4 separate regions of the Homo sapiens genome follow, and regions 1, 2 and 3 are each linked to region 4. Evidence: promoter capture Hi-C in human tissues and cell types (Jung and others, 2019). All regions are on one chromosome and are shown on one strand. The core of a region is centred on a gene start or on the middle of the fragment in contact, and the rest is flanking DNA. Distances in the headings are between cores, read along the strand shown.

What was found. The method cuts DNA at HindIII sites, captures the fragments that hold promoters and counts their contacts. A contact is called where the count stands out against the background at its distance.
Region 1: a contact is called between a fragment that was not itself captured here and the fragment with the promoter of FOXD1 in region 4, in 2 of the 25 tissues and cell types used here (IMR-90 fibroblasts and aorta).
Region 2: a contact is called between a fragment that was not itself captured here and the fragment with the promoter of FOXD1 in region 4, in 2 of the 25 tissues and cell types used here (IMR-90 fibroblasts and spleen).
Region 3: a contact is called between a fragment that was not itself captured here and the fragment with the promoter of FOXD1 in region 4, in 1 of the 25 tissues and cell types used here (mesenchymal stem cells).

What each region holds. Positions count from the first base shown.
Region 1 is chr5:73,263,222-73,268,301 of GRCh38, reverse strand. All of the region lies in intron 1 of LOC124901002 (a long non-coding RNA gene), which reads right to left. All of the region lies in intron 1 of LOC105379031 (a long non-coding RNA gene), which reads left to right. Among named protein-coding and RNA genes, the nearest start is that of LINC02230, 72 kb to the left of the region's middle. The HindIII fragment of the contact is 4,811 bases long and covers 366-5,080 here.
Region 2 is chr5:73,212,181-73,217,733 of GRCh38, reverse strand. It overlaps LOC124901002 (a long non-coding RNA gene), which reads right to left and starts at 3,798. Exons shown (of 3, transcript XR_007058818.1): 1 at 3,453-3,798. RefSeq lists a silencer at 1,428-1,607. The HindIII fragment of the contact is 6,939 bases long and covers 1-5,326 here.
Region 3 is chr5:73,232,528-73,237,379 of GRCh38, reverse strand. All of the region lies in intron 1 of LOC124901002 (a long non-coding RNA gene), which reads right to left. Among named protein-coding and RNA genes, the nearest start is that of TMEM174, 62 kb to the right of the region's middle. RefSeq lists an enhancer at 3,544-4,492. The HindIII fragment of the contact is 3,158 bases long and covers 213-3,370 here.
Region 4 is chr5:73,446,903-73,451,942 of GRCh38, reverse strand. It overlaps FOXD1 (forkhead box D1), which reads left to right and starts at 3,166. Exons shown (of 1, transcript NM_004472.3): 1 at 3,166-5,040. The coding sequence starts at 3,581. The coding sequence ends at 4,978. RefSeq lists a silencer at 357-566. The HindIII fragment of the contact is 13,220 bases long and covers 1-5,040 here.

The sequences.
Region 1 (5,080 bases), core at 1,522-4,021, 180 kb after region 4:
TTAGAGTCTTAGGATAATGATCTGCCACCATATGTGGGTTATAACTTGAGGTTTTTATAAAAATGTGTCTTGGATTAACTGACTATGCCACAGTGCCGGGTAGCTGGCTTGTTTCTAAGAAGTAAAATGCCTGACATTTGCTTGATGCCGTCAGTAGAGCTTTCTGATGAAGGCAAATGAAGCAACCAATTAGGGATGTGACTTCAGGTGTGGTCTCCTTCCAATAGAGGTGTTGTGCTCTCTGTCCAAGAAGTTTTCCTACAAGGAGGCATAATGCCTTAGAAAGCAATTATCTTATTTAAGCCTACACTTGTCTGGGGAGCTGAGGTCAGCCACAGAGCCGTTGGAAAGAAGGAGCTGTCTGCCATAGAAAGCACTTTCTTTGGTGGGGGAGAAGGGGTCAGTCTGAACAACTTTGCTTTTGAATTGAGTGACCTTCTGAGCCCACAAGCCTGGTAAGATTAAACGCAGAGCAAACCTCAGGACGCGGTCACCTCCTCTCTCTTCCAATCACTCCCATTTCAAAACAAAAACGGAAATACTTTAAACTTCGCTTTCCATAGCTGATGCCCTCCCCAAAAACTCTGTTACTGCTTCTGCTTGGATTATTTTCATTTCGGTTGTGTTTTTCTGACCGAAGGCCAGGCCCTTGTCTTTGTGTATTTGTAAAGTGCCATGTCTGCTTACTAGTCTTTAGAAATTACAGACAATAACAGGAATGCAAGAGAAACTGGCAGCTAAAGCCTTGCAGCTTTTCTGAACTAACGCTCTGACCAAGAACCAGAATGGAATATTTTTATAAGGCAATATTGAAACATTCTAATCCCAAGAAACTAAATGAAGTCTGCATTAGCGGTATATAAACCAGCACGCCGTGTTGGCACGGGGTCTCTGCTACTCGCATGGTTAGCCGTGATGCCACGTTAACGAGCTGTTGCTTGCAGTCAGTATGAAAGGGAACACATCCTTTCAGTGAGGGAGCCTCAAGACAATTTCATGACAATAATGGCTGAGTTTAGACTTCACGCTGCCCTCTGTCCTTTCTATGCCAGCCTCCTGAAGATCCAGAAGTTCCCTGAGCATGATGGTTTGCATCTTGTGACATGTATCTGGCTGCGCTAAACTTGCAGAATTTAGGAGCCACAGGAAAGAAAGCCCAGTACTGGAGGGACAGCAATGTGAATGTTTGGATTCAGCTGAGAGGCACGACTAGGCCGGGTCAGCTCAGCAAAACGAAACAAAGCAGAGGCAAAGCAGACAAAGCAAAAGAGTTTTATTTCTCTCTCTCCCTCCCTCCCTCCCTCCCTCCCTTCCTTCCTTTGTCCTTTTCTTTCCTTCCTTCGTCCTTTTCTTTCCTTCCTTCTTTCTCTTCCTCTCTCCCTGCCTTGCTTGCAACTGAACTTTGTAGTGAATTGTCTCCTCCTCACTTCCGCTGTAGTCATGACTTCGAAAAGGCAGAAAGAACTTGAAAATAACATTTAAGAGCTTAATATCATGAACACAACCCAATTTAGAAGGTAATTCATATATGAGGTGTGGATTAGACAACAGAATAGACCTTGAAAGAGTCTGTACTAATTGTTCCAGCCCCTAGAATACAGTGATGGCATTAGTACCCATGCAGAAGCAGAATACACCAGCCTAACAAAAATGTGCAAGCTGAGGGTGTTTAAATGGCTACGAAGGCAAGGTCAGTATCACCCCATGGAAAGCATTCCTTCCTCTCGTTACATGGTCCTCCTCAGGGCATGCGCCGAAAGAGGCTGGAACTGTCCTGAAATGAGCTGGCAGCTTCTGGGCAGCTTATATCACCAGGGTGCTAGACCAGGCCCTGTTAAGGCACAACCAGCCCAGGAAACTTTTAGCTGGAAGCATAAGTGTATTGAATTTAATGACCCAGGCAGCAGCAGCAGAGGTCACTGCAACAGAACTCTAAAATGAAATCCTCCCATTGGAACACCGCTCTCTTTTTCTTTAAAAGCAGCCCTGGAAAATCAGAGGCAGAGCCCAGTCAGAACACAGACTTTTTAATTTCATTTTTCATTTTAGGAATCAATAATTGAAATATTTAATGAAATGCAAATCTCACAGAAATCAGGTTTGGAAACTTACAGTTAAATTTTCATCCTAGATTTGTTTCCAAATGTACATTGTTGAGGCAAAGCAGTTAAAATATAAGTTTTAAAACAATTGTTACTATTCTAAGAGGACTTTTTATGAGTACATTGTTCAATGTAGTCACATTTTATTTCTAAAAATAGACAAATAACAAAATGATTCACAGATGTTGATTTACAAGAAAAATAGTGAACTATATAAACTGAAATGTATTTGAAGGAGGGATAGAGGCCCTCATTATAAACCATTCCATAAAAAGAAAGCAATGCCTTCTCCCTGACTTCCCAGGAAATTCCAAATCCCGGCTGGACCCGCAGCACCCGGATATGAGTGCACTCTGGTCCCTGCTTAAGGCCAGTCCTGGGAGCCAGAGCTGCAGACAGTGACAGATGGCATAAGCATCTGGCATCACACCTTGTGACAGGAGTGTACCCTGGTAAGGGTGGATTTTCTGAGATGGCACTTCTCAATAGTTAATCTACATCAGAATTGCCTGGAAAGCTAAAAAAGATGCAGATTCCCAGTCCCCACCCCCTAGAAACTCAGATTCGGTATAACTAGAGTGGATCCTAGAAATCTGCACATTAAATCTGACTTTCAGGTCATTCTGCTACAGACAGAATGTGGACTACAACTTGAGAAACACGCTCCCCCCCCACCCTTGCCCAGGGATACCATTGAAATCATTTACCTACTTTCAGAATCCTGCCTGCCACTGCCAGATAGGGTTCATCCAGTCCATCCTGTGGTTTATATTAATACCTGAGGGCATCTCCAATACCCAAATTTTTGAGAGCCACAAAAAGAATAATTAGAAATGACTGACCTCACGTTTTGACTCTAAACTGTTCACTATACAATTAATGTAAGCATAATTATATACATCAGACTGCTGTTAATAGATGATGTGGTTCTGGAAATACAGCCTAATCCCTGCTGTATTATATTATGTCCAAATATTCCTGCCCCTCCTGGCTTGGCCCCAACCCTAGTAGTCTGTCCTAGGAGATTGAACTTCCTGCCCATTGAAGGTGGGTCAGCCCAGTGACTTGTTTTGTCCGATGAAATGTGAGTGGGAAGTGGGGCTGCTGCTGTGATCAGAAGCTTTAAGGGCCATGCTGTGGTTCTGCCCTCTCTCCTCCCTCTGCCATGAGAACAGTGCGTTCCAGATAGGAACTGCTCCTTTAGTCTTGATCCAAGTGGGGAGACTTGGGGCAGTTGGGAGTTGAGCTACAGCAGTCTGGGGTGAGAAATAAACCTTTGCTGCTGTAAGTTCCTGAGACTGTAGGGTTGTCTGATACTGCAGCCTAACTTAGCAAAACCAGCTGGCTGTTACAGCTTCTCATTAGTACTGGTGAAATACTAGGCTGGGCGTCGCTACGGGAAATGTCTTCGTCCTGGTTCAGTCTGGAATTTTCTTTTGTCATATGAATTCTTTCTGTTCCACACATCAGAATGTGCTTCCTTTTAATGGCATATTTAATATTAACTGCAGAAAATTATGAGTAGTCTTGAAAATGCTCAGAGTTGAAATGTAAAAACTTAACTCATCAGCTGTATCTCTGGAAGTTAATTCTTAATAACATTGAACCTAGAATGTCCCCCTGCCCCACTTCCAGTATACCTTGCAGAGGGACCTGCCACCAATGACTGATTAGCAGGACCGCAATCTGTGTGTGTGGTATTGCAGCTTCTTGTCTGATTTTCTGCTCCAAACATGTGGTAATCTGTCTTACATGTCTCCATAAGGCTATGGCGGTGAGAAAGGGTGTTTACTTGCCGCTATTTTGTGATGGGAGAAAAAAAATTCCCATTTCAGACCATGGTTTTAGTGCTCTACCATGGGCTCCATGATATTTCCTGTGTAACATTATCAAACATTTCTGTGGAACTGCAGTTTTATGGTTTAAAGATCTCATGCCCCCCTCTGTGTTAAGCCAGTGACCATATATCACTGTCAGAACACACCTGTGAGTTCAGATGAGTGGGAGAGAAAGGGGTGGGTCGTAGCCAGTTCACTGAGGATTTCTCATAGGTCACAACCTGTCTTAGCTCCACTGGCAGTATGTGGCCCTTCCTATTAGTCACACCTAGACTTCTACCATGTCAACTCCCAAATTTTCTGTGTTGCCTTGGACTAAGCCCCTGAAGCTAGTTTAAGCACAGAGAAAGGAACTTATTCAAAGATAAAGAAGTTTGCAGCTTGGCCTGGGAAAAATCCTGGAAGCAGAAAGTAGAGAATCAGTGGGAGCCAGCCCAAGCTCTCCCTCTGCAGATCCCTCCCTCCAAGACTCCTTGGTGTCCAAAGACTGGCTTCCCCTGCTCCCCAGGCTCCATGATGGGATGAAGCTGCCCACACCTCCAGAGTCCACATGTGAGAGTTCCAGCCTCAAGCACAGGAGAAAACTGTTAGTCTCAATCCTTGATATCATCAATTTAATAAGTATTTCTTGCACACCTAGTATATTCCAGGCACTGTTACATGCTTGGGATACACAAAGGAATGAAGAAGATCCCTATGGGGTGGGAGGTAAGGGCCAGAATTCTGTTTCATAAACCCATGGTTACCAGGAGCCCAGCCTCATAGTTCTCATCAGAGGCCTCAGTAAGAAGTGTCATCATCAGCTGGGCTAATATCCCAAAAGATGACACACAAACAAAAAGAAAATGGAAAGTGGGAAAATTCTGGCATGGTCTCAAACAGCATTTTCCACTCAGTTCCACCAGTGTATTGCAGGCCTAATGTTATGGCTCTTAATTTGTTCTCATTACTTAGAGCCAGGAGGGTGGCTCATGCTATTACTTTCATTTCACAGAGAAACAAAAACAAAAAGAAGGACAATACAAGAGAAGGAGTTGGATGAAGTCAATGTTGCTTGGGCACCATTCCTTAGAGTCCTTTCAAAACTGATGCCTCTCAAAATATGGTCAAATGGCCACCAGAGTTCATTTCTGGAATGAA
Region 2 (5,553 bases), core at 608-3,107, 230 kb after region 4:
GAAAGAGGAAGACAAAGACTTTGTTTTGGGGATGACTCTATAAATCCCACAAGCCTTTGCTTTAGTGTTGCTCCCTCTTAATGCTTTTCATTTTTTCTAACTTGATGGTTTATTAACGTCAGCACTGCAGTTTCACAATCCTTTTGAACCCAGGTCTAGATTTAATGAATGCAAAAATTTTACATGATTTGTAAGTTATGTGAAGTTTCCAAATAAATATCATCAGTGAAAAAATCAATGCAAGTCATTTTGGAGCAAAGATTTTTCAAAAGACTGGAGACTATCTGATGAGACAATTTCATGTCTACTCTTGGTAAGGACCCACAAGATATTATTTGATCTTTGGTAGGTGTATTTCTTTCCCCTCCTCCTTTTCCTGGGCCATTTTCATTTGGGTTGGAGCCCTCTGGAACTTTTGGCTAGTTTTGGTTCAAATGAGTTAAGAATTAAATTTGGGCCAGGCATAGTACCTCACGCCTGTAGTCCCAGCACTTTGGGAGGCCTAGGCAGGCAGATGGCTTGAGCCTAGGAGTTTGAGACTAGCCTGGACAACATGGCGAAAACCCGTCTCTACTAAAAATACAAAAATTAGCTGGGTGTGGTGGTGCACGCTTGTAGTCCCAGCTATTCTGGAGGCTGAGGCAGGAGGATCACTTAAACCAAGGAGGTCGAGGCTGGGGTGAGCTGAGATCGCCAGCCTGGGTGACAAAGTGAGAACCTATCTCTGGGCTGGGCGGGGGTGGTGGGAAGAGAGACAGAGAGAGAGAGAGAGAGAGAGAGAGAGAGAGAGAGAGAGAGAGAGAGAATTAAATTTGGAAGCAGGGAGAAGAAAAATGGAGACGATTTGGTGAAGGAAAGAGAACCAGGTGACCATAACTTCTTCGGGTGGAATAACAGAAAGGTGTAGAAGTCTCTACTAAGAGATGAAAGATCTGACATGGAGAAAATAGAAAAAGAAAAGGTGGCCATTCAATTTTATATATATATATATCTCCTGAAGTTAAACTTTCTGGCCACAGAGCTCAGAATCACCATAATTACTTTATGTTCTAAATGATGTCCTTTAGGCTCCCAACATCTCAAGTCTCAGTAGCTGCAAAATGGGGGTGACAGCTGGTCGCCAGCGCAGGGAAGGTGCGTTCGGAGGCTGGGGGTGGAGGGGAACGCAGGGAGAAGCTCGCCACCTTTCTTCCCGGAGCGGAATTCCCTGGAGTTGGAGTGACTTTCCGGCTGATTCACAGCTCTGCTCTCCCTCGCGTCCCTTGCGGCCACTTCCAGCGCTCGATCCGAGTCTCCGGGGGCGGCAGAGCCTGGGTGCCAAGGCGGCCGACCGCAGGCCTGTTCCCGGAGGTCGGGGATCGTCTCCCGCGGACCTTTCCACCCCGGCCAATTCTTGGGCACTCCACTCGCTGGGCAGCCCCGCGGCCTCCCCAGCTGCCTGCGCCGTCCTGGCTCCCGCGCTCCAGGTCCCTCTCCGCGTGCTCTGCGCCACAGCTCCTCTCTCCTGCCCCCATGCGGCCATAGGGGGAAAACCGCGCGGGTGCTCAAGGGCCCTGGCCGCCCTGGCCGCCGCCGCCGCGCCCTCGATGCTGGGCGCTTGGGTGGTGCGCGGGTGCACCGCACTTGGGCAGGGAGGAAAAGCTGCGCTCCGAGGAGGATGGTGCTGATTCTGCGGGACAGAGACTCCCTGGGATCTTCGAGAAGGTTTCGGCAGCTCCGCACCCCCCCCCCCCGCCCCATCTAAGGCTGTTGACCCAGAAGTGCGGACAAGGAGGAAGCCTTCTCCCCAGCGCCGCGAGGCTGGCCGCTTCGTGAACGAGAACGTGGTTATGCACGGACGGAGGGCAGGGTGTCTGCAGTGAGGTGGTGGGAGATGGGGCGGATAAAGCTTGGGGTTTAAGGCACCACGAGTAACGTAGTCCCAGCTTTGCAGCTCCGGGCTTAGGTGTTTATTTCATTTTAAGTTCCCCCTTTCACTGCCTGTACTAGCCTAGAGGGAGTTACAAATGACTTCCACATCCTGGTAGTACGTGGGTTCGTGGCCTTTCCCTTAGCCAGCCCAGCCAGCGAGGTTTCAGCTGCCAGAAAATGTGTTTCCCATCCAACATTTCTCACACAAGGACAAAATATAACGTGTCTAAAAATGGCGAGCTTCCTGTCTGGGCTCCCCTCTCCCACCCCGGTTCCCCACTTAGGAATAAAACTTGAGGAACAAAGATTAGTTTGAAATCTATTTTTCTTTGGACATCCCAGATTTCTGCTGGTTCAGTGTCCCGTGTCAGGTGAAATTATTCATGAGGCTCTGAACTGAGTTGATAAGTCTTACTCCTTATCCCTAGAAATTCCAACTGGATTTAAATCACTCCCTGGTTGCTGCAGAAGGTCTATGTTTTATGGGAGTTCTCTAGTGAGCTTTGAAGTATTTGCTTACCAAATCCGTTTCTCAGCTTCCAGCTCCTGAATAAATTACCTGCCGCTTCTCTCTGCTGCCACTCCCCCGCCCTCCTGAAATATGAACAGTGGGGATGTTTTCTGAACAATAGGTTGGAATGAGGGCTCTGGGACTTATCAGTCAATTGCCAGCCCCAGGACACCCATTTGCAGCCGTGGCTGACTGGAGATTTCCAATGGCTAATGGAATAGGCAGGGAATGGGGGCCCGTGGACCTTATTCCATTCACAGGTTTATCCCTCACTCACAGGGAATCACTTAACGAGTGTCACCATATACTATCTCAAGCCTGGTTGCTTCGTCAGGGAAATGGTCATTAGAATCCTCATTTAGAGAACACATTAAAATCCTCATGTTGAAAACATCCTGGAGCTTTTTTTGAGGATTGCCACTTGCCAGAGGTTAGTGCTAATTGATGTCAGGCAGGTCTGTTTGCAAAGACTGAAGACTATAGACTTCTATTTATTTTGTTCTTTGCATAAGGGCTAGAGAGGGTAAAGGGAAATTGGGCAGCCAAGACCCTTGGGTGAGCCAAGAGGCATTTCGCATTATGTCCCAGCTGCTTAGAAAGTATTTTTGTCCATCCTCCTGTATGAACAGGATGGGGCATGTCTAAATTGTCCATTTTTATGTCTGCCGGGAAGATGCTTCCCTTTCTGTCCCTAATACCTAAAATGTCACTAAAATCACCGTTTTCTTCGTTCATGCAATATGTTAAAGAGTTCATTAAAGACTCCCCAGGGGGCTCCAGAGCAGCCTCTTCTGGGGTTGTGATTTGTCACATTTCCATGATTCACTTCACCAGGGGCCTCAGTAGCTGGAGGATTCCTTGACTCTCTCACTGGGACTTCCCAGACATGAACAAGGATCCCATTACCCTTTTCTTACTTCGAGTTTTTCTAAACCAACAACACCAACAACAACAAAAAGTAAAACAAACAAAAAATTAAAATATACCAAAGCAAAGACATCTGGCTATTTACAAAGCACAGATTTCTTACCCTAAAATAATTGAAGCCTGTCCCAGACTTGGCTGATCCTGCCTCTGGCTGGGCTCAGGGCTTCAGCCTCCTGGTCCTCTGATTGCTGCTGCTTCATTGGAGGAAGCTGCTCCCTGGTCTTCATCTTCGGGGGACTTAGAGCATGGCTGGACGCCCACTTTTTTGTGCACTTCACCCCATGGCCTCTGAGCCTGAGCAGTGGTCCTCTCGGGGAAGAAAAGCCTTTCTCAGGTCTCAAGGTTCCTCCCTGGGCCTCCTGGTAGCCCTAGGCACTCCTTGGGTAGCACGCAGGAAGGTTCAGAGCCCTTACCTGTCACTCGCTACTCTCAGGCAGCCAGCCTAGGCTGTGGGTGCTGGGCCCCATCCACCCAGAAGCCTGCCTACTTTCTATTCACCCCTCCCCTCTCCATCTTTCCCCCAGCCAGCCAACACCACTGAAAACCACCTGTTTTGTGTTTTGAAATCCTGGAAGCACGCCCATCCTCCACCCTCGCAGACCTCCCACTGTGTTCCAGTTTCCTGTTCAAACTCCAGATTTGAGTTCTTGACTCATTTCAAGAACATTCAAAAGTCACATACGCTGAGCTTGCTGCATATTCAAGTCTTTTCTTCTCTGCTCAGGTGGCCAATGGTCCCCCTCTCAGGCGAAGGGGAATCTTGTAAAGTTTCAAGCCTGGCAGCCCCCAGGGGTGATCCTCAGACTAGTCAGAGATCAAGTACCTGCAAAGTCACAGTCATCTCTACAGGGCACCGTGTAACCAATTAGTCCCCTCAAATGTGCTAGGAACAATTTTACAAGCAAAAACTATGACCCTGTTATGTCATCTACTGTAAAATCACAACCACAAGCAAACAGGTTCACACACAATTACAAGCACAAAGGAAATTACTGACTTCCCCGATTGGCAGACTGGCAGTTTCTGAATGTTCTGGCGATGCCAATTTGTTCAATAATCTCCTCCTCCTCCTCCTCCTCCTTCTTTCTTTCTTTCTTCTTCTTGTTCTTGTTCTTCTTCTCCTTCTTCTTCCTTCTTCTTCTTCTTCTTCTTTATTATTATTATTATTATTATTATTATTATTATACTTTAAGTTCCGGGAAACGTGGAGAACGTGCAGGTTTGTTACATAGGTATACAAGTGGCATGGTGGTTTGCTGCACCCATCAACTCGTCATCTACATTAAATATTTCTCCTAATGTTATCCCTCCCCTAGCCCACACCCCTCAGCAGGCCCCGGTGTGTGATGTTCCCCTCCCTGTGTCCATGTGTTCTCATTGTTCAGCTCCCGCTTATGAGTGGGAACATGCGGTGTTTGGTTTTCTGTTCCTGTGTTAGTTTGCTGAGAATAATGGTTTCCAGCTTCATCCATGTCCCTGCACAGGACATGAACTCATCCTTTTTTATGGCTGCATAGTATTCCATGGTGTATATGTGCCACATTTTCTTTATCCAGTCTATCATTGATGTGCATTTGGGTTGGTTCCAAGTCTTTGCTATTGTAGACAGTGCTGCAATAAACATACCTGTGTATGTGTCTTTGTATTAGAATGACTTATGATCCCTTGGGTATACAGCCAGTAATGGGATTGCTGAGTCAAATGGTATTTCTGGTTCTAGATCCTTGAGGAATCACCACACTGTCTTCCACAATGGTTGAACTAATTTATGCTCCCACCAACAGTGTAAAAGCATTCCTATTTCTCCACATTCTCTCCAGCATCTGTTGTTTCCTGACTTTTTAATGATCGCCATTCTAACTGGGGTGAGATGGTATCTCACTGTGGTTTTGATTTGCATTTCTCTAATGACCAGTGATGATGAGCTTTTTTTTTTTTCATATGTTTGTTGGCCACATAAATGTCTTGAGAAGTGTCTGTTTATATCCTTCACCCACTTTTTGATGGGGTTGTTTATTTTTTTCTTGTAAATTTGCTTAAGTTCCCTGTAGATTCTGGATACTAGCCCTTTGTCAGATGGATAGATTGTAAAAATTTTCTCCCATTCTGTAGATTGCCTGTTCACTCTGATGGTAGTTTCTTTTGCTGTGCAGAAGCTCTTTAGTTTAATTAGATCCCATTTGTCAATTTTGTCTTTTGTTGCA
Region 3 (4,852 bases), core at 542-3,041, 210 kb after region 4:
ATGCCTCCTGTCTCACTGCAACTTTGTACCTTTAACCGATGTTTCTCCTTTCCCCATCTTCCCCTCTCCCCTGCTCCCAGCCTCTGGGAACTATCATTCTACTCTGTACTTCTATGAATTCGATGTTTTAGATTCCACTTATAAGTGAGATTATATTATTTGTCTCTCTGTGTCTGGCTTATTGCACTTAGCATAATGTCCTCTAGGTTTATCCATGTTGTTGAAAATTACAGAATTTCCTGTTTTTAAGAAGTTGAATAGTATTCCATTGTGTATATATACCACTTTTTTAAACCCATTTGTCCATTGACGAGCACTTCAGTTGTTTCCATATTTTTGTTTGTTTGCTTGAGAAGGGTCTGGTTCTCTTGCCCAGGCTGCAGTGCAGTGGTGTGATCTCGGCTCACTGCCACCTCTGCCTCCTGGCCTCAAGGGTTCCTCTCACCTCAGCCTCCCGAGTAGCTGGGACTACAGGTATGCGCCATCATGCCCGGCTAATTTTTGTGGGGTTTTTTTGTAGAGACAGGGTTTCATCATGTTGCCCAAGCAACCTGCCTGCCTCTGCCTCCCTAAGTGCTGGGATTACAGGCATGAGCCACTATGCCCAGCTGTTCCTGTATCTTGACTATTGTGAATAATGTTGCAATGAACATGTGCAGACATGTCTTCAACATACTGAGTTTAATTCCTTTGTATTATATACTCAGAGTGGGGATTGCTGGATGGTATAGTAATCCTGTTTTTTATTTTTTGATGAACCTCCATACTGTTTTCCAAAGTGGCTGTACTAGTTTACAATACCACCAATGCTGTACAGGTTCCATATTTCTCCACACCCTCACTAAGACTTGTTATCGTTGATCTTTTTGATAATAGCAATCTAACAGTTGTGAGGTGATATCTCATTGTGGTTTTCGTTTGCATTTTTCTGATCATTAGAGACGTTGAGCATTTTAAAAATATATATGTTGGCCATTTGTATGTCTTCTTTTGAAAAATGTCTATTTAGGTCCTCTGCCCATTTTTTGATAGGGTGATTTGTTTTCTTCTTCTGGGTAGTTTGATTTCCTTATATATTTTGGATATTAGCCCCTTATCTGATGTATGATTTGCAAATATTTTCTCCCAATCTGTGAGTTGTCTCTTCATTCTGTTGTTTCCCTTGCTGTGCAGAAGTTTTCTAGTTTGTTGCAGTCCCATTTGTCTATTTTTTCTTTCATTGGCTATGAGACTCAAAAATTTAAATAAGATATTACCAACGAAATAGATTAAGATCACAAAAACCATCTGTATCTTGGAGAGATAATACAAGCTTACAAAGACAAAGCTACATATTAGACAGTTACTGGGAGACACCGGGCCAAGGATTCCATGGATATGTAAAACAAAAAGTCATAATTGAACTTTGCTTCCCACAGGGCCCATCATATCTCATTAACTATGAAAGAAGCAGAAAATAAATCAAGGAACCACTTTATCCTTCAGGAAGCCAGGAAACAAAATAGGGTACCAACTTGGCATCAAATTTTGTTATAACTTGAGCAGGTTCACAGGGCAAGCATGCTGGGCCTTAGAGTGGCAGGAGTGGGAAGGAAAAGGTAAACAGAAAGTGGGGTGAGAAGCTCCTAGCCTAGAAGCTTGGTGCAGTGCAGGATTCTAGTGACCCTGGGCAGCAGGTTGTGTGCCCTGGGGTCCAATCCTGTACAGGGTGTGGGTATTGAGTTAGGCAGTCAGCTCTCCTAATAACCAATCTATTCCTAGCAGGGACCCAACCACTGGCCAAGGTAAAAAGAACAGGATAGGCCAGGTGCAGTGGCTCATGCCTGTAATCCCAGCACTTTGGGAGGCCGAGGTGGGCAGATCACGAGGTCAAGAGATTGAGACCATCCTGGCCAACATGGTGAAACCCCATCTCTACCAAAAATAGAAAAATTAGCCAGACGTGGTGGCCCAAGCCTGTAATCCCAGCTACTCGGGAGGCTGAGGCAGGAGAATCACTTGAACCCGGGAGGCAGAGGTTGCAGTGAGCCAAGATCGTGCCACTGCACTCCAGCCTGGCAACAGAGTGAGAGTGAGACTCCATCTCAAAAAAAAAAAGAAAAAAAAAAAAAAAAAGAACAGGATACTGTTCCACCTCTGTGCCACTTCCAGGGATTGGCAGGAATCAAGCAGGGTGTCAGACCAGCCAAATGGGGGTAGAGGGCAGGGTTCCAATCCCAGGGATGGGGAGAGGTGAAGAGGGGATCAAGGTCTGGATAGCCAGGAAGTCTAGCTGTGGAAATTGACCAGTTTAGTGTGGTATATGTGATATATATTGGGCGAGGGGTGGGGTGGGGGGTGGGGAAGATGACAAGCACAACATTGTTACCAGTTTCACATATCTGGCACTTAAAATATCTTGTTTTATTTCAAGGGGAGGTGTTTACCTAGCCCCTGTAAGGCTTTGTAAACCCTTGTCCAAATTTTGCATTTCCCACTGCACCCAAGCAGGGCCCAGCACAGTACCCAATAATCCTTTGCAGTTTATAATTGAACCCAGTTCCCTGAATAAAGACTTTCCACAGTGCAGAATCTACATCCCCACGGTCCTCCCAACTCTTTCTGTCATTCCGCGGGGGTGGGGGTGGAAGGCAGATCTCCCCCAGGGCAGAACCGTGCGATTCACCGGACATCTGAACTCTGCCCACAATACTTTTTAACCCGATGGTTACCCCTCTGACTCCGATGACCTTTCGGGGGTGGGGGAGGCAGGAAAGCCACCCTTCCTTTCTCCTCGTTATCCCACCCTGTCACCTCCGTTTTCTGCAAAACACATGTACGTTTGAAAAAAACGTCTTTCATCTGGGACATGTTTTCTTTACCAGAGCAAGTGTGTGTGAAGGGGCGGGGAGGGGCGGGGAAGGGAAGGGGTACCAAAGTGCCCAGCAGCAGGAGCACCTACAAAAACAATCCTTCCCGGGCGAGGCACCGGGGGAAAATCGTACCAAGGAAGGTGACTCGCCACTCCCGGAGGCTGGGCCGCTCGCCTTGGGCAGTCCTGGGCGGTGATGGGGGAGGAGGGATGAAGGGAAAAAGATGGAGGTGGGGGAAGGGCAAGAGGCGGGGGAGGGGGTGGTCCCGAGCAATTCAATGGCGCTTTGATTTAACAACTCCAAGCCCTTTGAAAACATTTTGCCAAGAAAAGCTTGCCATCAACACGTATAATCTCTTATCAGAGGCCCCTGAAAGCCCGGGCCCCGGGGTTAATTCCCCCATCGCAATGAGTTTGAATCAGCTCTAAACCCGCAGTGACATGAAAGCGCCCGAGCCTCGGGCCGCACAGAGCCCACTGAGATCCGCCGACCAGGGAGGATTACGGGGCCTGTTCCGCGGCGGGCTCGCCGGCGGGACGGGCAGGCTCAAAAGAAAAAGAATAATTAGGGATAATTGCTTGTGTCCAAACACAAGCATTAAGGCCCCCTGTTCCCCTTTGGGACTTTGTGAGCCAGAATGAAAGAGACACCCCCTGTTTTGACAGCTGGACCAGCGGCCTGGATCGGTGACCGAGGGAGGAAGCTTTCCCGGCTGCTGGGAACGCGGCCGAGCAGGGCTGCGGGTGGGCAGGGGACCGGCCCGGCCCAGCGCGGGCGGGGTCCACGCGTGGGTCACCGCTTCGGCGACAGCCCTCCCTGCGCTCGGGAGCGTGCGGGTGGCGTCCCCGCCCCTCGCCTGAGGCCTGCGGAAGCCCGCGGAAGCCCAGGAGCCTGGTGCGGGCTTTGGGCAACAGAGGGCAGCGTCCTGCGCACACGCCTCTCGAAGACCCAAGGGGAAGCGCGGACCTGGCGCCCCCTGCGAGCCGCTGGGACGTCTGGGGCCGCAAAGCCCTGGCCGTGACACCCCTCGAAGTTCCACACCCCGCCGCGTGTGATCTCTTCAGCCCCACCAACACTCACAAGCGGGAATATCTGATCCCACCTCGTTCGGCGTGGGGCGGCCTGAGCCACATTTGGAGACACCCGAGTCCCAGGGTGGTCCCAGCCACATCCGCCCTTGAAGCTGAGGCGCGAGTAGGAGGCCTCCCTTAGTGACTGGGGAGTGACGGGAGAATTAAACGCAACGAGGGCAACGGCTTAATGCACACCCTCTGGATCAGGTCTTGCCCACTGCCCCGCAATCCTGAGAGTGGCTTGATGTTGGGGTTTGGGGCCAGGGCTTTCCGGAAAGGAGCCTGCACAGGCCAAGGCCTCCAACCTCCGGGGGCCCAACTGCCTGGGAGCTTGGCTATTTGCCCTGTGTCATGCGAACTCCAGGAAGTCACAGTGCCTGAGGTGGCCAAGATATTCTTTGAGAGATCCTTGATAGGGGTGCAAAAGTTGGCTGGTGTCAGCGGGATGCCAGCGCCTAAGCGGGGATGGGGAGGAGGGCAGAGAAGGGAGGAAACCTGAAGGAAATATGCACTTCGAGACCACCCTGAACACCTGGACCACCCAGGCTGAGGCCTGGAACTGCTGAGCCTCGAGGCCAGCATGGCCAACAGGCCAGACAGTTCGGAAAGGGCAGTGAATCTTCCAGAAGGCCTATCTGGGAGGATATCGCTCTGTCTCTGGGCGGCGGCCCGAAGCCCAGCGGCAGGCAGAACCACCTCCGCGGCAACCCCAGATGCTCCACCAGCTCTCCTGCCTCCAAATAGAGATCACATGCGGGGCTGGAGGAAGAGTGGGGAAGCGGCGCGGTGGACACGCGGGCATGAGTGATTAATTAAAGGGAAACCACATCCGACAAGAAAAGAGTTTTCTGAAAGGAGCCGAGTCCAAGAAGAGCTCCCGACCCTGCAGCTGCAGCCCAGACGGATCCGCCAGCTGCCAGGCCCTCC
Region 4 (5,040 bases), core at 1,917-4,416:
ACACGTTCATGTTCACGTTCATGGGTAAAATCCTGGGATGCACAAGGAATAGCCTAGGTTCCTTCCCCGTAAGTCTGAGCCCCCAGGTCTCTTCCAGCCTTCATCCCCCTAAGGAGGTCCCTGGGCTTGGGGCGCTCATGGTCAGGGGCAAAGGACAAAGGGCGGAGGCAGGGAGCCTCCCGACGGTGGCGCAGCCTCTCCGGCTCTCACCTAGCGTAATCCACGTGACCCCCGCGCAGGGGCTCCTGGAGGGCCCAAACCGCTCGTGGGGGGAAAAAGCCTCAGCCTGCAGTCCAAGGACCTGCCTCCACTACCGCCCAGTCCCGGGCCCCCGCAGCCGGTGGGAGGGACGCCCGGGAGCCGGCTGCCCACACTCGAGAAACACAGGCTGCTGGGCGAGTTCCCCGCGCGGGCCGAGCTCCCAGGGAGTTGCCGGCCCGGGCGCGAGGGCCCGCAGGTCGTCGCACCGCCGCCAGGGGGCAACTCTGCCCTACGCAGGCACCACCGGGACCCGCCGCCCGCCACTTTCCGCGTCCACGCGAGCGGGTTGCGCCGGACGGGGGTCTTCGCGTCGCTTCCCCGGCTCGCCTCTGGGAAAGGTTTTGGTCCCTTGTACCAGCTTGGGGGCGGGGAGCCGGGGGAGAGTTACCAGCTGGGGCCGAAAGCTGGGAGCGCTGTAGAGAAGGAGGCCCGGGGTAGGGGACGATGGGGGAGACAAGGGGGTCGCGCAAGACGTGAATCGCTTGAGTTTCCGCGCTCGGGGAATTTCGCGACTGCGGAGCTAAAGGTTGCATACAAACATGTAGCTTAACTAAGCAAACAAAACAAGTGGTCACATCCACATGTGGGGCTTCAGTAAAGCTCGCCTAAATCTTAGTGACACTTCTCCGTCTCTGCAGCGGTCCCTCTGGGCTGATCTTCCACTCTGACCTTCAGTAAGTCCTAAAACTTTCCCCGGAGTGGCCAGGAGATAATTCGCCACATTCTGCAAACGTTTCCAGGGAAGAGCCTCTTAACCCTTTGGGGGAAGAACTTGCGGACAAAGTTACAAACGAACGCAGTCTATCTCCCGCGCCATGAACGGAATGATGGCTGTAACCGGTCATCTAAAGTCATTAATGGTCTGCGAACAAATTCTTCCTCTCTGTTTCATCTTTGAATAACTTCGCCACACACCAACCCTCAGTGCTGCGAAAGTCATGGTGTTTATTTAGATATCGACTGAGTACTTATAAAACTTAAACTTTCCAATGTAAAAGTGAACTCCTTGGTAAGGACTCCTGGCTGCATCAACAAAGCAATGTGATGCCTGATTAATAGTGCTGATTAATGTTGGCTCAGGTTAATGCTCAGCCTATTACAGTAATTAAATTGTTCACCCATATATCAAACAAGAGTTAATGAAAAATAATTTATTTAGAACGTCGAGGCTTTCTCATAGATTGTTCAAAGACCTATGATAGCCTTTATGGGTCACTTGTAAGAGTAACTGGTGGTAGCAGTCCTCAGCAACAAAAACTCGATTTTAATAGAGGTCTTTAGATGGGGAAACAGTTTATTTCTGAGGCTCTGTGATTGACAGCGGTAGTAATGACACGTTTCAGAATGTGAAAAGTACTTGGTCGATAAAATGATATACACAAGGGCAGCTGATGGCTGTTCCTACAGAACGCCATTGAATTTTGATTCTTAGTTCTTGTCAAGGGGTCATTTTAATCAGAAAGTTAAACTTTTGGGACAAGCTCCCCTCTTTGAAATAGAAGCATTTTAGGAAATGCACAAATAAGTGAATGTGAATTCAACAAACTATTAGGATTTTTCCACTAGCCAAAATAGCTCGTTTGAGTTGGTGATAAAGATAGGTATATTTAAAAGAGCATCATATCTTAATTATTTCCACTATCTTGTCACCCGAAAAGAAAACTGAATTGAGCGGAACTTTAATCTCATAAAAAAAATTTTCATCTCACCAGAAAGGATTAACAATATTTAAGGATTTTCCAAAAACACATTTTTAAAAAGTTTATCTTAAAGTCATCTATCATTATAGTTTCTATTAATAAGCCTCAGTAGAAATATGTATATGTTATGTAATTTAAGTATTTTGAGATTACTATGCAAAGTGCTGACTAGAATGTTCCTCCTACTGAGAACTATATAGCCCCATTATGAACGAACTTCTGTTTTTTTTTTTTTTTTTTGAGGCGGAGTTTCGCTCTTGTTGCCCAGGCTGGAGTGCAGTGGCACGATCTCGGCTCACTGCAACCTCCGCATCCCGGGTCCAAGCGATTCTCCTGCCTCGGCCTCCCGAGTAGCTGGGATTACAGGCGCCGCCTACTAATTTTTTTCTATTTTTAGTAGAGACGGGGTTTCACCATGTTGGCCAGGCTGGTCGAACTTTTTAGTAGTTTCTAGGTGCAATTTTTGTGCGTGTATTTGGGTTTTCACTAAAAATTTCAATTTCTTCTCCGAATTCAATTATTACGTTCTTTATTCCCATGACATTTGTCAGATCGTCTCATTAGAGTGGCTTAGTTTAACTGTCAAGTCTCTAGGGCATTCAATCGCAGAGAAGTGAGTAAAACGCCAGTCTCACAGCGTTTTTATTAACAGATGGCGGAAAACAAACGTCTTTGGAGTAAAACCGAAGAGAATGGGTTAAAGGGTCAATAAACAATTATTATCGTGCTTAAATTGGGGGGCTTCGCATCAGATCCAATGGGGGGCCGCTCGCCCGATCTGGAGGGGCTGGACACCCCCAACCGACCCCAGAGCGTCCCCCAGGGGCCACCTCAGAGGATGGGGTGGTTATCCCCCGGCTGGAAGGCTCCTACAGGCTGTCGAGGGGTCAAACCAGAGTGTCGCGGGTGTGCTTCTGAGGTTAGGGTGGAGGACTAATTGAGGAGGCTGGGAAGTCTAACTCGTGCAGCGGCCCTCGGTGCAGACAGCCGCGTAATTCGGGCATCAGCCTCTTTGGCAAGAAATAGTGAGGTCCCCTCTCCTCCCCACTCTTCTCAGCTGCTGCCTCCCTCCTACGGGTGAATTTTCTCTCCCGAGAAGGGCTGATTTCCTAGGCTTGCTTTCCTTCCCTCGGCAGCGCTCTGACGTGCACACCATGTGACAGGCCCCCTTCTGCTATAAGCCGAGGAAGGTCCGCCCTCTCCTGGACTCAGCCCTGGCCTCGCCGAGCTCTGTTCTTAGACTCTCACCCGTCCCGCACGTTCCTGGGCGCCTGGCGTTCTGATTCGCCCGCCCGGGCCCCGCCACCCCCTCCTCAGCTGACGGGGCAAAAGCTGCTCCGAGAGGAGAAGGTCAAGTCCTCCGCCCGGGCCGGGCGCGAGCGGAGCCCAGGGAGCGCAGCATCCGCGCGGCTACCGCGGCGGCGCAGGAGTTATAAAGTCGGCGCGCGAGACTCCGCCGCCACCCGGCAGCCCCGGCGCAGCTCCGGCAGCCGCAGTCGCAGCGCCCCCAGCGTGGCGCCCCCCGGCCGGGCCTGCCGCCCGGGACCCGGGCTGGGGCGCAGAGGGAGCCCGGAGCCCGGCGCCCCCATGCGCCGCCCCGCCGCCGCCGCGCCACAGCTATGACCCTGAGCACTGAGATGTCCGATGCCTCTGGCCTCGCCGAGGAAACAGACATCGACGTGGTGGGGGAGGGCGAGGACGAAGAAGACGAGGAAGAGGAGGACGACGACGAGGGCGGCGGTGGCGGGCCCCGGCTGGCTGTCCCCGCGCAGCGGCGGCGGCGGCGGCGCTCGTACGCCGGGGAGGACGAGCTGGAGGATCTGGAGGAGGAGGAGGACGACGATGACATCCTGCTGGCCCCGCCTGCTGGGGGCTCCCCGGCGCCCCCGGGCCCGGCCCCGGCGGCGGGGGCAGGAGCCGGTGGGGGCGGCGGCGGCGGCGGCGCGGGCGGCGGCGGGAGCGCGGGTAGCGGCGCCAAGAACCCGCTGGTGAAGCCGCCCTACTCGTATATCGCGCTCATCACTATGGCCATCCTGCAGAGCCCCAAGAAGCGGCTGACGCTGAGCGAGATCTGTGAGTTCATCAGCGGCCGCTTCCCCTACTACCGGGAGAAGTTCCCCGCCTGGCAGAACAGCATCCGCCACAACCTCTCGCTCAACGACTGCTTCGTCAAGATCCCCCGCGAGCCCGGCAACCCGGGCAAGGGCAACTACTGGACGCTGGACCCGGAGTCCGCCGACATGTTCGACAACGGCAGCTTCCTGCGCCGGAGGAAGCGCTTCAAGCGGCAGCCGCTGCTCCCACCCAACGCCGCGGCCGCCGAGTCTCTGCTGCTGCGCGGCGCGGGAGCCGCAGGGGGCGCGGGCGACCCGGCAGCCGCCGCCGCGCTCTTCCCGCCCGCGCCCCCGCCGCCCCCGCATGCCTACGGCTACGGCCCCTACGGCTGCGGCTACGGCCTGCAGCTGCCGCCTTACGCGCCGCCCTCGGCCCTCTTCGCCGCCGCAGCGGCCGCCGCCGCCGCCGCCGCCTTCCACCCGCACTCGCCCCCGCCGCCCCCGCCACCGCACGGCGCGGCCGCCGAGCTGGCCCGGACCGCCTTCGGCTACCGGCCGCACCCGCTCGGCGCCGCCCTACCCGGCCCCCTGCCGGCCTCCGCGGCCAAGGCGGGCGGCCCGGGCGCCTCAGCGCTGGCGCGCTCGCCCTTCTCCATCGAGAGCATCATCGGGGGCAGCTTGGGCCCGGCCGCCGCTGCCGCCGCCGCCGCGCAGGCCGCCGCCGCCGCTCAGGCCTCGCCCTCGCCCTCGCCGGTGGCGGCGCCGCCAGCTCCCGGATCCAGCGGAGGAGGCTGCGCGGCGCAGGCGGCCGTGGGCCCGGCGGCCGCGCTCACCCGATCCCTCGTGGCCGCCGCGGCCGCCGCCGCCTCCTCAGTCTCCTCGTCCGCCGCCTTGGGGACTCTGCACCAAGGGACTGCCCTGTCCAGTGTCGAGAACTTTACTGCTAGGATTTCCAATTGTTAATAACGCTATGTTAGCGCGCTCGAGGAAGAAGGTAGGAATCCCGGCTCCTTTTCTCGTCTTGG